Linked DNA regions of Homo sapiens: region 2 is linked to region 1. Evidence: promoter capture Hi-C in 16 types of primary human blood cells and fetal thymus (Javierre and others, 2016). All regions are on one chromosome and are shown on one strand. Each heading gives the region's core, a stretch centred on a gene start or on the middle of the fragment in contact. The rest is flanking DNA. Distances are from core to core; before and after follow the strand shown.

What was found. Contacts are between HindIII fragments. The CHiCAGO score rates a contact against its expected background, and 5 or more counts as called.
Region 2: a fragment that was not itself captured here is called in contact with the fragment with the promoter of SLC18A3 in region 1 in 2 of 17 cell types (M2 macrophages and M1 macrophages); the score reaches 5.8 in M2 macrophages.

The regions. Positions count from the first base shown.
Region 1 is chr10:49,607,766-49,612,354 of GRCh38, reverse strand. SLC18A3 (solute carrier family 18 member A3) reads right to left here and starts at 2,045. Exons shown (of 1, transcript NM_003055.3): 1 at 1-2,045. The coding sequence starts at 1,614. The coding sequence ends at 16. It also overlaps a transcript of CHAT not described here. RefSeq lists enhancers at 1-176, 177-1,073, 2,118-2,912, 2,913-3,708. The HindIII fragment of the contact is 17,270 bases long and covers 1-4,589 here.
Region 2 is chr10:49,781,556-49,786,144 of GRCh38, reverse strand. No RefSeq gene overlaps it. Among named protein-coding and RNA genes, the nearest start is that of OGDHL, 22 kb to the right of the region's middle. The HindIII fragment of the contact is 3,078 bases long and covers 517-3,594 here.

The DNA.
Region 1 (4,589 bases), core at 796-3,295:
GGAGGAGTGGGGATGCTAGCTGCGGGTGTAGTAGTAGTTGTAGTCGTCCTCGCACGCATCAAAAGGGCCAGGCGGGCTGCGAGGCTCGCCGTCCTGGCCAGACACAGGACGCTCACGCAGGCGCACCGCATCGTACAGACCTTGCGGTGGCTCATCAAGCAGCACATCGCGCTCGGAACGGGAGCGCGTCAGGAGGCCCACGTTGCGGAGCAGCAGCAAGACGGGAGCATAGAGCAGGTTGGCCAGTCCCATGCCAAGGCTGAGCTGCTCAAAGCCCAGCGAGTGCACAATGTGGCCTGCCACTATGGGCCCGAGCGCGTAGGCCACCGAATAGGAGATGTCGGCGATGGCGTAGACGCTGCCATAGACTGAGACATGGCGCACGTCCACCAGGAAGGCGAGCGTGGGCAGCAGTGCTGTGTCGACTAGGGCTATGCCAAAACAGAGGCCGCATAGTGAGACCACTAGCGGCGCGAAGGAGCGGCAGGCGGGCACGATGCACGAGCTGGCGCCGATCACAGCCAGCCCAAGCGCGCCGTACAGCCACTGCAGGTGTGGGTAGCGCGCCGCCAGGCGCACGGTGAGGTAGACGCCCAGCACATGAGGCACGAAGGCCGGCAGCCAGGCCATGCCCATCTCCCACTCGGAAGCCGCCATCGTATGCTTCATCCACGTGGCAATGGTGGGTTCGAGGAAGGCGAGGGGAATGTTACAGGTGGTGAGCGCGCCGGCCACCACGGCAATGTAGGGGTCTAGCATGAGGCGGTGGATGGGAGTGCCCACTGGCAGGTTGGCCCGAGCCCGTGCAGCCGCCGAGAAGGGTTTGGCCACTGCCAGCAGCAACAGCGCGTCAAAGAGCGACACGGCAGCTAGCACCAAGAAGGGCACGCGCTTGCCGGCGAACTCATAGAGGATGCCCCCGAAGGGCGGGGCCACTAGGCTTCCGAAGCTAATGAAGGCCAGCGCCACGCCCAGTGCACGACTGCGCTCCGGCTCCTCCGGGTACTTATCGGCGATCATGGCTATGCCAGACGTGTCGGCGAAGGCTGAGCCCAGGCCCTGCAGGCTGCGCGCCGCGAACAGCGTGGCGTAGTCCTCGGCGAAGGCGAACAGGACTGTAGAGGCGAACATGACGCCCAGGCCGATCAGCAGCGGCACGTCGTAGCTCATGCGGTCGATGAAGGGCCCGCTCAAGGGGTTCACTAGCAGCTGCAGGATAGCCTTGGAAGCAAACAGCACCCCGATCTTCACGTCTTCGCTCTCCGTAGGGTAGCGGGGCCGAAGGGCTGAGCCCGCTGGCCACGCAGCTGTCGGGGACGCCGAGGTGTTGGCCGTGTAGGCGCTGGCATTGGCCGGAGTGGGCAGCGGCAGGGTGGGCTCCCACACCTCGGGAGTCCGGGTGGGGCCCTCGCCGCCCCCGCGCATGTGGGCGATGTAGTCGGGCACTATGGGCACGATGACCATGTACAGCATGTTGTCCAGTAACAGCGCCACGCACACGATAACAAGCACCAGGCGCCTCTGCCGCCGGGGCTCCTGCAGCGCCGCGCCCACAGCCTCCGACAGCTTGGTGGCCGCCGCCCGGGCCTGGCCCGCAGGTTCCGCGGATTCCATGCCCCCACCCCGATGCTCTTCCGAGGACGCCTCCGCCAGGGCCGAGCGCTGGCGTCCCGCAGTGCAGAGGCGAGGGCACGGGACTTCGGGGAGGCTGTCCTGGCCGAGCAGACTCCCCTGTGCCTCAGGTGGCCGCGGAGCTCATGGCCCAGCGTCCCGGGAAAGGAAAGGACTCCGTCCGGCGAGGCGTTGCAGCTACTCTTAGCCGATCCCGGGACCCGCGGCTGCTGGGCTCAGGGGCGGCCGGGAAGTCGGGCGCGCCGAGGGGCCGGGGCCGGAGACTGGGCGCACTTCGCCCGGGGCGCGCCCAGAGCAGCCCCCGCCGCGCTAAGAGGCCGCCCGCGCTGGCCGAGGGACATGCTGTTGCCGCCCGCCCGCTTGCCCGCCCGTTAGCCCCGCCGCTGCGCTCCCCTCCCCTCGCGTCGGCTCTTGCCTCCTCCGCCGCCTCCTCTTTTTTTTTCCCTTCCACTCGGGGCTGTGACGCGGCGAGTCCCAGCCCCCGAGTGGTGCCCGGGCCACTTACGTCGCTCATGCTAATGCGACGTCGGCGGGGCGGGGGCCGGGGGCGGGGCGTGGCCGGGCAGGGGTCCGCTCTCCAGATGCTCCAGGGCTGGAGGCCCAGGAAGGGCTCTCGGTGTGGAAGTCTTGAACCAGCCCCTGGGATGGGCGTTCCGCGCCGGTAGCTGGCCCTCTGCCCCCCGCCCCCTGCCTGCCCCCCGCCCGCGGTTCTAGGACTCGCGGGGTCAGCGCCCGCTCTTCTCCTCTTGGGGAAGGGGGCGCGGCAGCCGGTTCCTCGAGGCCCCTTGGGAGAGGCGGGAGCCAGAGGCTTGCGATCTCCGCTTCAGCCTGGACCTCGGCGCACAGCGAGCAGGAAGCCCCCGAGGTGAGCCGCCGCTGCGTCCATCTGTTCTCGCAGCTGGATTGTGGAGCCGCGTCCGGAGGAGCGCTGGACACGGACACCCCCAACCCTTTCTCCGACTCCGCCCCCTGGCCCCTTGCACACACACTCCCGCCAGGAGGGGAGGGGAAGGCTCAGCAACTGCCTGGCCTGGCTCTGACCCACCGGCCCCTCCGCAGAATTTCTCGGCCGCGAATCGCGGCCGGGAGCTTGTGGGGACTGAGGGCAGAAGTTGCCGCGCCCCAGTCGGGGTCGCGAATATTAGCCTGGCCGCTGCCGCCCTCCCGCACTGCCTGGCCACATTCCCCTTGCCTGGAATCCCCCTTTCTCCTTTAGCGGTCTGGTCCCCCAGCTCCGCCTCTTCTCTCCCCGCCGCCGCACCCCCTCCCCACTCTAACTCCTCCCAGGCACTCTTCGCACCCGACCAAGCCCTCCCTCGGCTCCTGCCAGCCTCCGCCCCCTGTTCTGCACACTCCCCCATCCCTCATTTTCCAGAGCCTCCTCCAAGCCCCGGGTGGGCTCTGGAGTGACTGTGGCTGGGGTCCTCTCTTGGAACTGTAAGAAACCCTTCTTGGGTGCCGCGCCCACTCCCCGGAGAGCGCCCAGCCGCTTCGCTGTCGTCAGGGGCTCCAGGGAGACTCACCTTCCTTCTGAGAGGGCCGCACCCCTTGAGGCGCCCGTGCTCAGCTGACAGGCTGAGCTGCCCAGGCTGTGCGCTGGGCCTGACGCGTCCCCAGAGCGGCGTTGACCCTGGATGGCACATGGAACCCGTGTTCCAGTGGGCGGACTGGCGGGAGAGAGGCTCCAGGGCGGCTGAGGTTGGAGGTGGGGATTGTGTTGTTGAGATTACGGTTTGCGTCTCTCTTCCAGAGTCAGAGGGGAGCCTTCCCATTTTTCTGGCCTCAAAAGTAAAGCAGCATTAGACGCAGATGCTTCTCCCATTGTGCCCCCCACCCCGCAGGAAGTGCCGCGATGCAGTGCAAAGAGTGTGGTCTTTCGAGGCAGACAACCAGGATGGCTCCCAGCTCTGCCACGTACTCATTAGAGTACCTGCAGGGAATTACTTTGCCTCTCTGTCCCTCAGTTAGTTTCTTTGTAAAATTGAATAATAATAGTACCTACTGCTAAGGGGGCCGGGCACACAGTAAGAGCAGTATAAGGACTTGCTATGTTGTTATCGTGTGTAGAATGTGCGGTTTATCCTCATTTTTCACTTGTGGGTCTTGTGAAGAACAGATGAAAGACACAGGGGGCACTTGGCTAGCTGGCTGATCCCTCTGGCTAGGTGGGCATTGTGACTCCAGGCTCTGTCTGGGTTGGTGGAGGACCCGGAGGGCATTGGAATGTCTCCATCTGTCCCTGAGATGGCTGTAGGATGAGGGGATGGGGACCAATGTGTCAGGGTGAGAGGCGGCAGCCTGGCCACCTGTTGCTCAATTCCTTCACCCACCCAGTCACCCTGGGAAAGGAGAAACTCATCCACTGAAGGGCTGCTGCCACCTGCTCTGCAGTGACTGAAGTGCCCTCTGTCTGAGGGAGGAAAAGAGTCCCAATGTGGGCACAGGCCTGGCCCTGGATGACCTTGGGCAAGTCACAGCCCCTCAGTGGGGCCCAGCCTCAGCCTCCGTCTGGTTCAGGTTGAGGTGAGAGCCCACTCACTGCAGCCCTTAGCAGAAGTGCGTGCTGCAGAAGACTCTTTGGAGTGGGCTAATTATTTTAAATTGTATTTGATGGCCTTTCGTCAGTACATGCACACTCTCCAGCACATCCCAATCTCGCCCCAGCTGACTTCACACACTTATGCCACTTGCTGGTTCTCCAGTCATTTCCGTTTGAGACCTCTGGGCTCTTCTGACTCTCCCATTATGAGGCTCTTAAAGGGGCAGTCTCCCAGCCTACAAAACAATTATTATTTATGCACATGCTATTTCCCCTGTCTGATTAAAGAAAGGAGGAAGGAGGACTTGAAGGACAATTTTTTTTTATGTCTAGTGGCTGAAGAACAGAGGAATCATAGAGGACAGGAACTTTCCCAGGGCCTTCAAGGTGCAGACCACATCTCCAGCCCTCTGGCCCA
Region 2 (4,589 bases), core at 806-3,305, 170 kb before region 1:
ACAAGTCTTGGTTTTTGTACAGCTTTCCTTCCTGAACCCGATCTCATTTCTCCTTTCTGAGTGCCTACAGTAAGTGTCATCTGAATATTACTTAGGCCAGTAAAACCTTTATCTCTCTTTCTTTTGTCACTAACATTAAAAACAACAGTGACAACAGCAACACACTTCTTTTACTTAATTTTCTACTTGTTTGATTCATCTCCCCTACTAGAGAGAGACCTCTTTAGAGATGAACCTGTATCTCCTTCGCCATCATTTCTCCTCCAGGATTTAACACAGCATCTTTAAAGGAGTAGTCATAGATAAATGCTCATTGATTTGCTCATACCAATGTCTCAAGGAATCAAATGGATCCATAGATTTGGGCTTATGTGAAATCCTCTTCATCTGCGAAATATGGAAATGAAAACTATTCTGGAAAAACTACAAACTAAATATCTGTGAACAGATCACTTTAAGTACGTTTAGAAGCTGTATACATAAAACCTATGTGGAAGTCTTTTGTAAAATGAAGCTTTTTCAACAAAAATTTATTATATATGATTATATATAATTTACACATCGTATGCTATTTAATAATTAATATTTAATTCATGTTTTACCTATGTGGATTTTGTCTGTTTTCTGCCTTTTCCCTGTTTTTTTCTTTTGTGTGAATTTTCTGAAGGCTAGACAAACTCTCAGCAAACTTGCAGCATCTTAGAGACTTCTGAATGGCAGGGTAGTACACTACAGGAAGTCAGAGTGGTGAGCTGTGGTCCACAACAGGCTGACCTAGACCTGAACACCAGCTCTGCACAGCTTGGCTGCGGGGCCCTGACAACCACCCTCACCAGACCCCAGGTTACTCATTTGAAAATGGGGCTAATGACAGCTCTCTTGTAGGGTTGTGGAATGAATTAGAGATGAGTGCTAGAAAGCATTCATTAAAGGGCCAGCATTTAATGAGTGCTAATAACAGAAGCTCCCACATTTTTTTTTTCCTTCTACACATTGCAGCATAGTTTAGTCCTGGTTGCTAATGCTCTCCTTTTACTTCTCACATACTATACCCCCAATACACAGTCCCAATGGCCCAAGGACTGTCGCTACAATAAAACACCTTCAGATGCCAAGACAACATTATCTCTAAAAGTGGGAGCTGTCTGAATTATCTGTGCTAGATTGGATGTGCTATATTATTCCACACACACAAGACCACTTAAGCAATCAATAATCATTATGATAACAGAGTGTGACAAATGTCCTCTGGCATTTTTAAAAGCACATGGCTTCCTCTGGCTCGTCATTGAGAGGATCTGGCCAGTTGGGAGCTGAAGGAGGGCCCAGGCCTGCATGGGGAAGGCAATCGCTCCCAGAGCCGGGGTCCTGGGCAGCGTGGGCTCCACCCGCCATGGGACCAGTCGGTCTGTGGACCGTCCTTGGACAACACCAGGCTTCTGAGTCCTGAGTTACAAGCAGGTTTCTGCTAAGGCGAAGCAAGCTCTCTCTCTCTCTCTCTGCCTTGGCCTTCCATGAGGCTGTTTAAAAGATTAAACAGTTGCTACTTTGCCTCCAAGAAAAATTACTTTCCAGTCCTTTGGCACCATATTTTGGCTTCCTACCATTTAGAGTAATTGATAATTCCCTTGCTTTTATCACCTTCAGGAAAAAAAAAAAAAGAAGAAGTTGTCCTTAGATGGAAACATTTTTTTCTGTTTCCCTTTAAATACAGGACCCTCCCACCCTCTGTGAGCAGACCTGAAAGCCACCAGTCTTTACTATTTTCCCTGAGAGCAAATCTCCGCTGTGAACAAGGTCATCAGCATCTCTAATGTGCCCTGAACACCCTGCATTGATTAAACGTCAGCATGGTGCCTGGAGAATGTTCTCCCTCCTTACTTGATTCTCATCCTCAGGAGACAAACAAAACATAAATTCTTGAATATGGTAGATGAGTACAGGTGCCTTCAAAATCAGATTCTAGCCCCCGTTTCCAGTTCAGCATCATCTCTCTCTGCAGTCTGTCACCATCTCATCCTACCCCTTCCTCTGCTTGGAATTTCCTCCATCTCTTCTCAAATTAAGTTCCTACTCATCTTTGAAGATCCAGCCCAAATGTGACTTCCTGGGGGAGGCCTTCCCTGACCCTCTTAGACAGAATCAGCCCTTCTCCTCCCACTGTAAGCTCCCCAGGGCCCCTTACCCTATGCAGCCATGCTTCTAAAACCCTGGAGTTCCTGCTACAATGCAGATTCTGGTTCTGGAGCCTAAGATTCTTTTCTAACAAACCCCCAGGTGGTGCTGCCGCTACAGGTCCACGCAATGCTTCGAGTGGAAGAATGCAGTGTTCTCAGCACAGGGTTTTGTTCTCATTTGTGTGTGTGTCTTACCATTCTGCTTTAGCAGGACACCGACTGGCTATCTCATCCCTGAGTTCCCAGCCCTGAGCACAGAGCAAACTGCAAAAGTCAATGTGTTGAATGAGGACACCTCCCTTGTCACGCTCACATCAGCTTTCCCACAGGTCTCTTTCTTCTCCCCTCCCCTCCCCCTTCCCTCGCTCTTCCCTCCCCCTTCCCTCCCCCTCCCCTCCCTTTCCTCCTTCTCTCCTTCCCTCTCTCCCTTCCTTTTTTTTTTTTTTTTTTTTTTTTTTTAAGACAGGGTCTTGTTCTGTCACCCAGGCTGGAGTGCAGTGGTGCAATCATGGCTCACTGCAGCCTCGACCTTCCAGGCTCAAGAGATCCTCCTGCCTCAGGCTTCCAAGTAGCTGGGATTACAAGTGCACACCACTGTGCCCGGCTACATTTTTAAATTTTTATAGAGACGGGATCTTGTTGTGTTGCCCAGGCTGGTGTCAAACTCCTGGCCTGAAGCAATCCTCCCACCTGAGCCTTCTGAAGCACTGGGATTATAGGCATGAGCCACTGAACTGGGTTAGGCCTTTCCTTTTTGGTGTTCACTTTTAAGGCACACCCAGACTGTTTGCATTTTAACTCAGTAAACAGATATTTACAGACAAGATACAAAGCACAGCCAGGCTTTCTCAAGGCGAAAGAGCTGGTAGCTTCTGTTGCTCAGTGCCTTCCAGACTTCAGCCCCCTGTTCACACGCCCACTTCTCATTCTGTGTGCGTTCTGCCTGTTCTCATGTTTAGTGAGTGTGGCTGGAATCCATGGAGGTGGGACTTGGATTTCATTCCCATCCAATTCAACTGATGAGTATCCTAGTTTTAGACATGGTACTCTGAGGATGGTGGAAGGAAGGTGAAGTTTGTGGAGGAAGAGTGGCTCGCATCCATTCGTCATCCCTCGATGGTCTCAGGTTCACTTTGCATCATGAGCACTCAAGAGTTAAAAAGGTCTCATTTCTTGACCCCAGATCATGTCCTCAAGCCATTGTCTTTTTTTATGTTCTCTCTGGCTTGGCTTTTTTTTTTTTTTTTTTGCATGTGGTTTGATATGTACGATGAGCTCACAAGCAAAATTAAATTATATCATGAAGTGATAAAATGCATACAGTGGAGTTGACTTGCCATGAGCATTTGAGATGATGCAGTTCTGTCCTGTTTAAAAATATTAAGCAGCCATAGCATGTCCTATCTGGAAAGAAGCTTGCAGAGATCCTCTGGTCTATACCTATTCCCAAGTAGGGAAACTGAGCCCAGAGAAGCCACCTGGCCTCTCAGGACTCCACAAGCAGAGTGCATTCAAGCTAGGATCAGAAACCAGGACCCCTGGCAACTCCTTCCTTACATGTGCAACCCCTTGCTCTTGAACCTGATGGTTAGAACTAGTCTCCCTGTAATACACTTCCTGTGTCTGGGAGACTCAAAGGCCTCTTTTAGCCTCTGAAAGCTAACTTTTAAAAAATTTCAGGTGCATCGCTATTTGCTCAAAAGTTCTATTGCCCTTCTTCTTGACTCACATGTGTCCGGAGGTGGTTCCTTCCAGTGGGTTCTTGGTCTCGCTGACTTCAAGGATGAAGCCATGGAGGTTCACAGTGAGTGTTACAGCTCTTAAAGGTGGCACAGACCCAAAGAGTGAGCAGCAGCAAGATTTATTGTGAAGACCCAAAGAACAAAGCCTGCACAACACGGAAGGGGATCAGAGCATTGTTGCTGCTGGCTGGGGTGACCAGCTTTTATTCCCTTATGTGTCCCCACCCACGTCCTGCTGATTGGTCCATTTTACAGAGTGCTGATTGGTCCATTTTACAGAGTGCTGATTGGTGCATTTATGATCCTTTAGCTAGACACAGAGTGCTGATTGGTGCATTTACAATCCTCTAGCTAGACAGAAAAGTTCTCCAAGTCCCCACTTGACCCAGGAAGTCCAGCTGGCTTCACCTCTCAACATTGGTGGTCAGCTTAAATTCTTCAAGACATTAAAATCTGCCCTTCTTAGGCCCTGGGCCCTGCAGTTTCCATCAGACATGACTTATTATGCTGGGTCATGATTTCCCGTTTATTTATCTGTTTCTGCTGTGCAGACTGTGAGACGCCTGAGGGCAGGGATCATGTCCCTAGCACAGAGTAGAACTCAGTAAGGTAAGAATCTACTTGCTAGGAAAAGGAGAGTCTCATGCATCCACTAATCCTGACTCAGGTG